Regions from separate parts of the Homo sapiens genome. Here region 2 is linked to region 1. Evidence: promoter capture Hi-C in 16 types of primary human blood cells and fetal thymus (Javierre and others, 2016). All regions are on one chromosome and are shown on one strand. Each heading gives the region's core, a stretch centred on a gene start or on the middle of the fragment in contact. The rest is flanking DNA. Distances are from core to core; before and after follow the strand shown. Region 1 holds the start of SCNN1B (sodium channel epithelial 1 subunit beta). Region 2 overlaps COG7 (component of oligomeric golgi complex 7).

Region 1 (5,908 bases), core at 780-3,279:
TGGCACGTGTATACCTGTGTAACAAACCTGCACGTTCTGCACATGTATCCCAGAACTTAAAGTATAATAATAATAAATAAAAAAGACTGAAAAAAAAAGCAATGGTGGGTCAAGTTATATGAAGCTGAATTTACTTCATTTACTTCAACTAAAACAACAGATTGCAGCCGACTGAATACGAGAATCCAGCTGTCTCTTATTAAGCCAAGCATTAAAGAGATTTGCAAAAATGCTAAACAGTGCCCTTCCCACTGATTTTTTTTTTTTGAAAAATATTTTTCAGCCAGGCATGATGGCTCACACCTGTTATCTCAGCTCTTTGGGAGGCTGAAGTGGGAAGATTGCTTGAGGCCAGGTATTTGAGACCAGCTTGGGTAACACAGCAAGACTTTGTCTCCAGAAAAATAAACTTTTTTTAATTAGCCGGAAGCAGTGGCACACACACCTTGTAGTCCCAGCTAAGGCAGGAAGATGGCTTGAGCCCAAGAGTTTGAGGCTGCAGGGGTCACACCACTGCGCTCTAGCCTGGGCAACAAATTGAGACCCTGTCTCTCTTTACCAAAAAAAGAAAAAAATTGTAAAAAAGCCTTTTATTTATGTCAACAAGTAGTGGGTTTATTATAGTGTAATGCATTAATAAATATTTTTAGGTATCAGTTTTAGTTTCTCATATGGAAAGTATCATTATATAAACAAAATAACATATATGTGTTAAAAACACGTGTGTGTGTGTGTGTGTGTGTGTGTGTATTCCACATAAACAAAAAGTCTCAGGTATTCTGTAATTTTTAAAAGTACAGAAGATTCCTGGCTGGGCATGGTGGCTCACACCTGTAATCCCAACACTTTGGGAGCCCGAGGCGGGTGGATCACTTGAGTCCAGGAGTTCCAGACCAGCCTGGCCAATATGAAGAAAACCCATCTCTACAAAAAACACAAATTAGCCGGGCATGGTGGTGCATGCCTGTAATCCCAGCTACTAGGGAGGCTGAGGCAGGAGAATTGCTTGATTCCGGGAAGTGGAGGTTACAGTGAGCTGAGATGACACCACTGCACTCCAGCCTGGGCAACAGAGTGAGACTCTGTCAAAAAAAAAAGAAAGAAAGAAAGAAGAAAGAGAGAGGTAGGGAGGGAGGGAGGTGGAGAGAGAGAGAGAGAAAGAAAGGAAAGAGAAAGAAAGAAAAGAAAAGAAAAATACAAAAGATTCCTAAGACCAAAAATTTTGAGAATGACTGCATTAAGACAATCTATGGAGAAATATACAGGAAACTAAGTGTTAAGGATATTGGCAAGAAAGTGGCTGAAATGATAGTCCTGAAACCTTGACTTGATGAGAAGAGAAAAGAAAAGGAAGGGAAGATTCGAGGAAATGCGCAAGGCCCGCCAGTGCCCTGAGGCTAGAGCACAGGTGTAGTGGGCACTCCAGAGGGGGCCAGAGTTCCCAATCTCGGGGTGGGCTGTTTGAATTTCTAATGCAAAGATAGGACCTATCGGGGATGACTGAGATCTGGGAGGTCTCCACCTTGGTGGAGGTGGAAGAGGCGGAGGGAAGAACGTTCCTGGGAAAAGTGGCTGCATATGTCCCCCTAAAGTCACCAACTTGCCCAGAGGACACTGTGTCTGCAGGGGTGTGGATGTGATGGGGGCGCGCCTGTACTGGTGAGCGCGATGCTTCGCCTAGGTGAACGGGACAGGTACACGCGTGGGGTGGGATGGAGTGTTCATATATGTGGCTTGTGATATGTACTGAGGGGACGTGGGGTACACTCGGATGAGGGGTCTGTGGACATATTCGTGGCGCATGTGGGTATCGCTGGTGTCCCGAGGTGGGGAGGGAGAATGCGGAGCGCGTGCGTGCGGGGGGCGTCCAGTGTCCCTGAACCTGGCGTGTGGGGGCTGGAGCTTATTGGGAGGCGAGGGAGGTGGCCAGGGGAGCCGGGACCGTGCGTGTGGCCAGGCCGGTAGCGCCCAGTAAGCTCCACCCGCGGGCGCTCCCCGTGCTTCCCCGCCCCTGAACCTGCTCCCTCCCAGTCGGTCTCGCCGCGCTCGCCGGGTGTCCCAGTGTCACCAACACTCGGCCGCCGCCGCCAGCTTGGCGCGCACCGCCGCCTCCGCCACCGCCGACAGCGCGCATCCTCCGTGTCCCCGCTCCGCCGCCCGAGCAGGTATGACGGCGAACCCTGGCTCGCACCCGGTCTCCCGCGCGCTGCCCGGAGTCCCTGCGCGCGCGCCTTCTCCTGCCCAACCCCGGCCCGCGAGCTCCTGTCCCGGCCTCAGTTTCCCACGGGAGGGCGCTTGGGTGCCTGTCTGAGGCGCCTGGGACCCGGCCTGGGGACTGAACGGGTTGGGGGCGGAGGGGAGAGCTGGAGGCTGGGAAAAGCCCCCAGGGTGCAGAAGGCAGACGGGGCCAGGGTCCCCGGCGTGTCTGGGACCTCAGAGACGGCGGCAAAGTCCTGGCATAGAGTGGGCGGGGCAAGAAGTTGTTCAAGAGGTGACAACAATGAAACTCGAGAGCGCTTTCTACGTGCTGGGCACAGCTCAGCAGAGCGCCTTGCTCAAACGACCTAACTTCGCTCACAGGGCATCCCTGTGGGGTGGTTCTCTTGCTGTCCCCATTTTGCAGAGGTGCAAACTGAGGGTCAGAGGGTGGGGAAGCTTCCCTACGTCCCAGGAACAAGTTGCTGAGCTCAGATTTGAACCCAGGCAGTCCGACCCTGGAGCCTACCTCGTGGGCTGTCAGTGGCGTCCGGGGAACGTGGGTTTCATTTGGGGTGATGTGGTGGAGGAGGCCAGATCCGAACGCCCTGCAGTTGTCTGCGCTGAGGATTCTCAAGTGCTAAGTTGATGTCTGGACAATGTCATATGACTTAGGTGTGCTGTGGAGGGAAAGGGTCTGGGATATAGTACAGGGACATTCTCACTCTAGCGTGGAGGGGGAAAATGAGGCACAGAGTTTAGGGAGGAAGCAGCAGAGACCTCCAGTCCACAAAAGGCACATCTTCCCACTCACCTCCACCAGGGAGTAGGGGCAGAACAACCAAGACTGGCTTTGGTCCCTGGCAGCCCAGCTCTCACAAAGCCGGGTGGATGGGTCTGAAAGCTCCCAGAGACCTGAGCACCCCTGTCTCAGATCCCAGCATCCGTGAGTGACCCAACCTGCCTACCCATTGAGCTGTGTAATTCCATGCAGAACACAGGGATCCATTCTTCTTCCTCTGTAATCTTCCACCCCTGCCCTCCCAGCTCCCCAAAGGTAAACACCTTCATAATTTGGAGTGTTTCCTTCTAGACCCTTTCCCCCACCTACACAGTCATATATACAGAGCCATAGAAAATATGTAAAATACTTAGTAATGTAGTAATGTTGTAGGTGGATATTTAATAGAAATGATGCAACCCTTGGGAGGCTGAGGAGGGCGGATCACTTGAGGTCAGGAGTTTGAGACCAGCCCAGCCTACATGGTGAAACCCCATTTCTACAAAAAAAAAAAAAAAAATTAGCCGGGCATAGTGGTATGTGCCTGTAATCCCAGCTACTCAGGAGGCTGACGCAGGTGGATCGCTTGAACCCAGGAGGTGGAGGTTGCAGTGAGCTGAGATGGCACCATTGCACTCTAGCCTGAGTGAAAGAGCAAGACTCTGTTTCAGAAAAATAGAACTAGAAGTAGAAATGGTACAACCCACCTATGTCATTCTGCAACTTGAGCCCTCTCATCACCAGTTATCCATGCTGCTGCATATAAACCCAGCTTATTTATTTAAACTGCTGCATGGATTCCCGCCGTGGATAATGCCTACCGATGGGAATTTAGGTGACAAAAATTTTCAGGTTGGTTTTTATTTCAGCATCTTCTATAAATTGTTATCTCTGGGTTAAGTTCAATTTATTTTTCTTTATCCTAAACTAACTTCACAGGATCTGAATTTAGGGGATGAGGTCCTCTCTTTTCCACTGCTCACATACGGACCCATGAATGCATGCACACACACACATGCACACATGTGTGTACATATGCATGTTCACACACAAGCACACACGGGCACACATACATGAGACATACACACAAGCAAGTGTACATGCATGCATACACACACACAGGTGTGTGCACACACCTCTATTCTGTCTATGACCAAGGACAAACACCACACTTTCTCTAGCTGCAGTCTCTGCAGGTCCCTAAGGCTGAGACTCAGCCAGGCCACTAGTTCTGCCTGGCCATGCCCCAATGGGCAGAGGTTCCATCGGGGCCACCTCCAGGGGTTCTCTCTAGATGCCCTCCAAAGCCAAACTCAGCCTCCAATAGCAGACAGAAGGAGCTGAGAACCACGAACCACGGACTGGCAGATTGGACTGTCCAGGGTCCTGTTTGTGTACCACAAACTGTAGGTCCAGGCTGTGGCCTAAAGAGAGTGTGTTTGCTATAGACTGACAGGACCCTTAAAAGTTTGGTGGAACCCATGATCTGGGTTGATGAAAAGCTAGAATCAGAGACACTACATTATAATCCCAGCTTCACCCCTTCCTAGTTCAGGCAATTCCCTTCCCCTCCCTGAGCCGTAGTTTTCACATCTGTAAAATGGGCATGATAATAATGGCACCCTCCCCAAACTGTTAGGTGGATTAGTGGGGTGATGTAAATAAAATGCTTAGGGACTCATCAGCATCAGTAAGCAGGAAGTCTTTTCCTGAACAGGGGAGACCTGGAGATGGCCCTTGGGTGGTGGGGGGACGCAGGGGTGATGCCTAGAGCCACTGTTTGTGACTTCATCCACACCCCAAGTACAGACCAGAGGGTCCTTTGCACTGAGCCCTGAGCCAAAGAAGAGATTTCCGCTTGTTGAGAGCCAAGCCCAGCTTACTGTGGAGTCCAGAAGTGTCATGTTACTTACAAAAGGCCTAAGGTGTGCCTGGTCCTGGGTTAAGACACAGAAATGAAGTGAGCTGAGGTGCTCCCCTTTGGAATACAAGAGATAGCAAAAGTCACAAAGAAGGCCTGTGGACTTTTAAATTTTTAGATTATTCCCAAGATTTTAAAAATCAGTTCATATAAGACTCCATATTTCTGGATCCTCTTGAGATATCAGTAAAGCTGGCAATGGCCAGGCATGGTGGTTCACACCTGTAATCCCAGCACTTTGGGAGACCAAGGAGGGTGGGTTGTTTGAGCTTAGGAGATCGAGACCAGCGAGTTGCTTGAGCTTAGGAGATCAATATCAGTCTGAGCAACATGGCAAAAACCCATCTCTACCAAATATATATATTATATATATATATATATATATATATATATATATATATATATATTATATATATATATATATATATAACCTGGGTGTGGTGGCATGTACCTACAGTCCCAGCTACAGGGGAAGCTGAGGTGAGAGGCTCCCCTGAGCCCAGGAGGTTGAGACTACAGTGAGCTGTGATCACACAGTTGTACTCCAGCTTGGGCAACAGAGTGAGACCCTGCCTCAAAAAAGGAAAAGAAAGAAAGAAAAGAAAAGCTGGCAACTCTGGGCCAGACACTCAGCTGCCCCCTTACATGGAGCAGGCACCCTGCAGGGCATGACAGTCCCTACCTGGCCCACCCCTCATTCATAAAGAGCAGCTAATATAAAAGGTAACACCACGGACTCCACAGCCAATCTCTATCTCCCAGCTATGCAGTGGATTAATTACAAGTTTCAGGCCAGGCGCAGTGGCTCACGCCTGTAATCCCAACACTTTGGGAGGCTGAGGCGGGTGGATCACCTGAGTTCAGGCGTTCGAGACCAGCCTGGCCAACGGGGTGAAGCTCCATCTCTAGTAAAAATACAGAAATTAGCTGGGCATGGTGGTGGGTGCCTGTAGTCCCAGCTACTTGGGAAGCTGAAGTGGGAGAATCGCTTGAACCCAGAAGGTGGAGAT
Region 2 (6,337 bases), core at 3,335-5,834, 130 kb after region 1:
TCGGCCTCCCAAAGTGCTGGGATTACAGGCATGAGCCACCACACCCAGCCATCTTTCTTTTTTTTGAGACAGGGTCTCACTCTGTCGCCCAGACTGGAGTGCAGTAGAGCAATCATGGCTCATTGAAGCCTCAACTTCCCAGGCTCAGGTGATCCTCCCACCTCAGCCTCCTGAGTTGCTGAGACTACAGGCATGTGCCACCACGCCCAACTAATTTTTGTATTTTCTGTAGAGACAAGATTTTGCCATATTGCCCAGGTGGGTCTCAAACTTCTGGGCTCAAGCAATCCTCCTGCCTTGGCCTCCCAAAGTGCTGAGATTACAGGTGTGAGCCACCACGCCTGGCTCGGCAGTTTCTTACAAACCTAAACATACACCTACGATTTGACCCTGCAATTCCACTCCTAGGTATTTACCCAAGAGATGGGAACATGTGTCTACAAAAAAAAAACCTACAGAACAATATTCAAAGCACCTTTATTCATAATTGCCCAACACTGGAAACATACCAAGTGTCTACCAATAAGAAGTGTCAACAGGCTGGGTGCAGTGGCTCACGCTTGTAATCCCAGCACCTTTGGGAGGCCGAGGTGGGCAGATCACCTGAGGTCAGGAGTTCGAGACCAGCCTGGCCAGCATGAAGAAACCCTATCTCTACTAAAAATACAAAAATTAGCTGGGCATGGTGGTGTGTGCCCGTAATCCCAGCTACTCATGGGGCTGAGGCAGGACAACCACTTGAACCTGGGAAGCGGAGGTTGCAGTGAGCCAAGATCGTGCCACTGTACTCCAGCCTCGGCAACAACAGCGAAACTCCGTCTCAAAAAAAAAAGTGTAAACAAACAGGTATATTCACACCATGTAACAGTATTCAGCAACAGAAAGGAACAAACTAGTGATACAAACAACACGAGCAAATCTCAAAAACACGCTGAGTGAAAGAAGCCTACAAAAGATGAAATGCTGTCTGATTCCATCTAGGTGAAATTCTAGAACACATTAAACTAACTTATGATGGAAAAAATCAGGGCAGTGGTTGCCTTAAGGGTGCTGGTGCACAGACCAACTGGGAAGGAGCATGAGGGAACTTTCCAGGGCGATGGTGATATGGATGTTCTGGATCCTGAAAGGGGATTAGGCTACCCAGGTATTTGTAGTTGTCAAATGAATGGGATGGCATATTTAAGATCACTATGGCTGGGTGCAGTGGTTCACTCCTGTAATCCCAGCACTTTGGGAGGCGTGCAGCCCAACAGTGGGAGGATCACTTGAGCCCAGGAGTTCAAGACCAGCTTGGGCAACATGGCAAAACCCTGTCTCCACAAAAAATACAAAAATTAGTTGGGTGTGGTGGCACGCACCTGTAGTCCCAGTACTCAGGAGGCTGAGAGGGGAGGATTACCTGAGCCCAGGGAGGTCAAGGCTGCAGTGAGCCATGATCATGCCACCGTACTCCAGTGGGGAAAACAGGGCAAGACCCTGTTTCAGAAAAAAAAAAAAAAAGATTGTATTTCACAATTTTACCTAAAAAAAATGTAAGTAAACATTGAACTCTAGTTAATAATATGTATGGTCTGAAGTGAATGAAGTTTGCAACTTACTCTGTTTTTTTTTTTTGAGATGGATTCTCGCTCTGTTGCCCAGGTTGGAGTGCAGTGGCACAATCTCGGCTCACAGCAACCTCCACCTCCCAGGTTCAAGCGATTCTCCTGCCTCAGCCTCCCAAGTAGCTGGGATTACAGGCGCCTGCCACCACGGCTAGCTAATTTTGTATTTTTAGTAGAGATGGGGTTTCACCATGTTAGCCAGGCTGGTCTCGAACTCCTGACCTCAGGTGATGTTCCTGCCTCGGCCTCCCAAAGTGCTGGGATTACAGGTGTGAAACACCACGCCCAGTCTTGTAACTTATTTTGAAATGAGTAAAACAAATAAGATGATTGACTGGGCACTTTGGCTCATGTCTGTAATCCTAGCACTTTGGGAGGCTGAGGCGGGAAGATCACTTGAGCCCAGGAGTTCGACACCAGCCTGGGCAACATAGTGAGACCCCATCTCTGTTTAATTTAATATTTTTATATAAAAAAGAATACAAATAAAAATAATTTTAAAAAATAAGATGGATTAATGAACAGACAGAGACAGGGATAGACAGGCAGATCTGCAATAAAGCAAATAGAGCAAAATGCACACTGTACAACGTAGGAGGTGGCTACATGGGTATTCACTGTACAATTCCCTCAACATTTTTATATATTGGAAATTTCTCATATGAAAATGCTAAGGGGAAAAATCTGAAGGAGACACATGTGCCCTGGCTCCTGTGTGCTATACCGACCTTCAGGAGGGGACAGCCCAACTATTATGCTTCCATCCTGAAAAGAAAATGGGCCACAGGCCAACAGTATAAATCAGCAGAAACTCATGTCTCCCAAAATCTAGGATGAGGCCCAAAGAGAAGTCTGAGAAGTCTAAGTTCTTTTTCTTAGATGACGAAAGGCATTCGTATGTATGGACATGAACTGTTTTTATCCTTGTGATACAAGAAGTAGTAGAAGAGGCAAGAACACATGAATAATTTTTTTCTTGGCCGGGCACAGTGGCTCATGCCTGTAATCCCAGCACTTTGGGAGGTCGAGGTGGGTGGTCATTTGAGGTCAGGAGTTCGAGACCAGCCCAGCCAACATGGTGAAACCCCATCTGTACTAAAAACACAAAAATTAGCTGGGAGTGGTGGCGGATGCCTGTAATCCCAGCTACTCAGGAGGCTGAGGCAGGAGAATTGCTTGAACCAGAGAGGCGGAGGTTGCAGGGAGCCAAGATTGTGTCCCTGCACTCCAGCCTGGGTGACAGAGCAAGACTCTGTCTGAAGAAAAAAAAAAAAAAAAAAGAAATATTCTTCTTAAGAAAAATAAAATAAAGTCAGGCATGGTGGCTCATGCCTGTAATCCCAGCACTTTGGGAGGCCAAAGTGGGAGGATTACTTGAGGCCAGGAGTTAGAGACCAGCCTGGGCAACACAGTGAGATCCTTATCTCTACAAAAAAAATTTTTTTTAATTAGCCAGGCATGGTGGCACATACGTGTATTCCTAGCTACTTGAAAGGCTCAGGCAGGAGGACAGCTTGAACCCAGGAGGCCGAGGCTGCAGTGAGCCATGATCATGCCACTGCACTCTAGCCTGCATGACAGAGCAAGACTCTGTCTCAAACAAAACAAAACAAAACAAAATCCTAAGAATGAATTAGGTTAGTTCAAGGAAAAAGAACAAGGATGGAGAAAAGTGCTTTAACCAACAACTTGAATGACATGACCCGGTATAAGGAATTCTCTCCAACCTTAGTCAAATTCATTCCAGCAAATGACTGATGAACATCTGAAGAGTGATTCACAACTATAGTAAAAAATAAAATATGGGGAACGTGACACTAAACCACTCGTAGATGACCTGCTTCTAGGTTGGGGTTTCGTACATAGCAGAGCAGCTCCCTCACTGCAATCTATTTCAATAGCTCTCTATCTGAGTGCTATTGAAAATCAGCCCTCAACACAAGGGTTTGGAGAAAAAAAATAAATAAATAAGAAAAAAATAAATAAAATAAGCCACACTAGAAACAGGCCCAGTAAGTCATTACTGCAAAGTAAGACAGGCTCTTCCCCTGCTTACAAGAGGTTCTACTGTGCCTCCTGTCTCAAGGCAAGAGAACAACGGTTTAAAACCTTTATGGCTGGAAATGCCTAGAGACTTGAGGAAAGTAAATGATGGATAGTTGCCACTTGAAACAAAGTTCCTCTGTCTCTCCTCACTCCTAGTCAGGGGGTACCTTTAAAATTATCTCTTCCCCTACTTCTTGGTGTATCATGAGAACAAGGGAGACTCACTTCAGGTAGGTAAATTTTACCTGAAGTAAAGATAAAAACATTCCTGTTCATTCGAACACCACCTGACGAGGGGCCTCCTGCTTTTAGATGGGAAGAAAATGGCCTTCAGGAATTCCACAGGCTCCCTTGCTGGACAACAGGCGGCATTGTCACATTAGGTCCTATTTAAGTTATAGATAAGAGTGGTAAGAAGAGTTTCAGTGGAGACCTAAAGATTTCACTGACGTGGATTTCTAAGCTTATCTTTTAAACTTAAACCATTTAACTGGTTATCGTTTTTTCTTTTGTTGTTTGTTTGTTTGAGACAGTCTTGCTTGCTCTGTTGTCCAAGCTGAAGTGTAGTGGTGCGACCATAGTCACTGTGGCCTCAACCTCCTGGACGTAAGCAATCTTCCTGCCTCGGTCTCCTTAGTAATTGTGCCACCACACCTGGCTAACTTTTGCATTTTTTGTAGAGTTGGGGTTTCACCGTGTTGGCCAGGCTGGTCTCGAACTCCTAGGCTCAAACGATCCGCCCACTTCGACCTTCCAAAGTGTGGTGATTACAAGTGTGAGCCACCGCACCCGGCCTAACTGGTTATTTTTTAACCCCTTGAATGACAGCAACAAACGGGGAAGTTCTTTGAGCTGTGCTCTGCAGTTGAGGGTGGCCACTCCCGAGGCAGTCACCCGTTCCCTTGTCACCACAGACTCTGTTCTCCCTAGAACAAAAATGAGCTGTTACCTGTGTAGCCCACTGGATTTGTGTGTGCCAAGCACCAAGCAAGGCATCATAGAGTCCGGTAAGCTGCCGGTCCAGGGATAGGTCACTTTGACACAGCTCTTGCCAGGCTGCTAAAAGCTGCACCTGCAGAGACAGAACAAAGGGAACCTTATTGGGTACGTCAACATAGGTTGCCTGTGAACACTGCCCTGCCCTGCTACCCAGCGTAATCACGGATTGCTCAATGGGCTCACTGGGCAGCCCAGTGAGGTCCATTCACTTCAAAGAAAGGCAGGAAAAAAAAAAAAACATTTGCAGTTATCTGCACTGATTCACAGCTTTAATCTGTCACCCTGCGGATGTGATCCCCTCTCCATTTATCCTGCCCTAAAAACATGTAATGTGCAACCACTTGGCACACCATCACTCTTCTGAATAGATGTTGGGGCAAGAGCGGGCAGACATGTATGTTTAAGCTTCATGTCCTAACATCACTGCTTAAAAGACACAGAGCACTGGACTTGAAGGAATTAAGGTCAGTTCAGGAAGCTGTCAAGTTTTTTGGCAATCTAACTTCAGCAAACCTAGAAAACATAAAATTCCAAGCCAGGTGGAGTGGCACGCGCCTGTAGTCCCAACTCCTCACAAGGCTGAGACGGGAGGATCACTTGAGCCCAGGAGTTCAAGGCTGTAGTGCACCATGATCGGATCTGTGAATAGTCACCGCACTCCAGGCTGGGCAAAATAGTGAAACCCTATCTCTAAAGAAAAAAAGAGAAATTCTTACTGCCTTCTGAGGGTGTAATAAAGCTTAAGACATAAATCTCCCTTAAAAGACAAAAATGAGAATAAATTAAAACAACGTTTCAAGTCTATAATGAATCCAGCTGTAAACAGAAAAGAGAATGAAAACGGATAACTTTTTCCAACTGGCAATTAAACAAATCCATATGCTAGACCAAGAGCACCCCCTACTGGCTAACTAAGAGAAAAACAGCCAGAGGGCAAGGAGACAAATGTTCTTACCTTCTGAATTATGAACCTGCGATTCTGTGACCCAGAGTTATGAGCATTCCACAACTGCACAACTGTCATCGCGCACAGCTTCTTACCTTGTGACACTTGTAGTAGTAGGCCAGGAGCTGGGGCATCCGGTCAATTTCAGTAAACACCTTCACAAACACTTTGGACTGATCTAAAGAACATACAATGTATATATACTGTTACCAGCCTTTCTGGTGTAGACATGAGAAAAAACTCACCAGGATGAAGGTGGATATATGGAAGCTAGTATTCACAAGTTCCTGCCTAGATACTGAATTAACTCATGCATGAGGATCATAAATTTGAAAAATAAGCATGACGTGAAAACCAGATACTGCAAGGTATTCCCCACTGTTCCTCACAGAATTCATATTTTAACATGATACTGAGAGGTTATTTATGTCTTTCAAAATTCCTACTTCGATTATACCAGATGGGAACTTTAAAAAAGCAAACACACTGAACTGCTATATGTCAACATATCTGGTGGTTTGAGGAATAAGTAAATAATTTGGGCTGGTCGCGGTAGCTCATGCCTGTAATCCCAGCACTTTGGGAGGCTAAGGCAGGCGGATCACCTGAGGTCAGGAGTTCGAGACCAGCCTGGCCAACATGGCAAAACCCCATCTCTACTAAAAGAAAAACAAAAATTAGCTGAGCGTGGTGGTGCACACCTGTAATCCCAGCTCCTTGGGAGGCTGAGGGAGGAGAA

Evidence for each region. Contacts are between HindIII fragments. The CHiCAGO score rates a contact against its expected background, and 5 or more counts as called.
Region 2: a fragment that was not itself captured here is called in contact with the fragment with the promoter of SCNN1B in region 1 in 1 of 17 cell types (endothelial precursors); the score reaches 5.2 in endothelial precursors.

The regions. Positions count from the first base shown.
Region 1 is chr16:23,300,273-23,306,180 of GRCh38, forward strand. It overlaps SCNN1B (sodium channel epithelial 1 subunit beta), which reads left to right and starts at 2,030. Exons shown (of 13, transcript NM_000336.3): 1 at 2,030-2,165. RefSeq lists enhancers at 1,228-1,745, 1,746-2,262. The HindIII fragment of the contact is 6,869 bases long and covers 1-2,653 here.
Region 2 is chr16:23,428,943-23,435,279 of GRCh38, forward strand. It overlaps COG7 (component of oligomeric golgi complex 7), which reads right to left. Exons shown (of 17, transcript NM_153603.4): 5 at 5,694-5,776; 6 at 4,603-4,725. Among named protein-coding and RNA genes, the nearest start is that of COG7, 21 kb to the right of the region's middle. The HindIII fragment of the contact is 941 bases long and covers 4,115-5,055 here.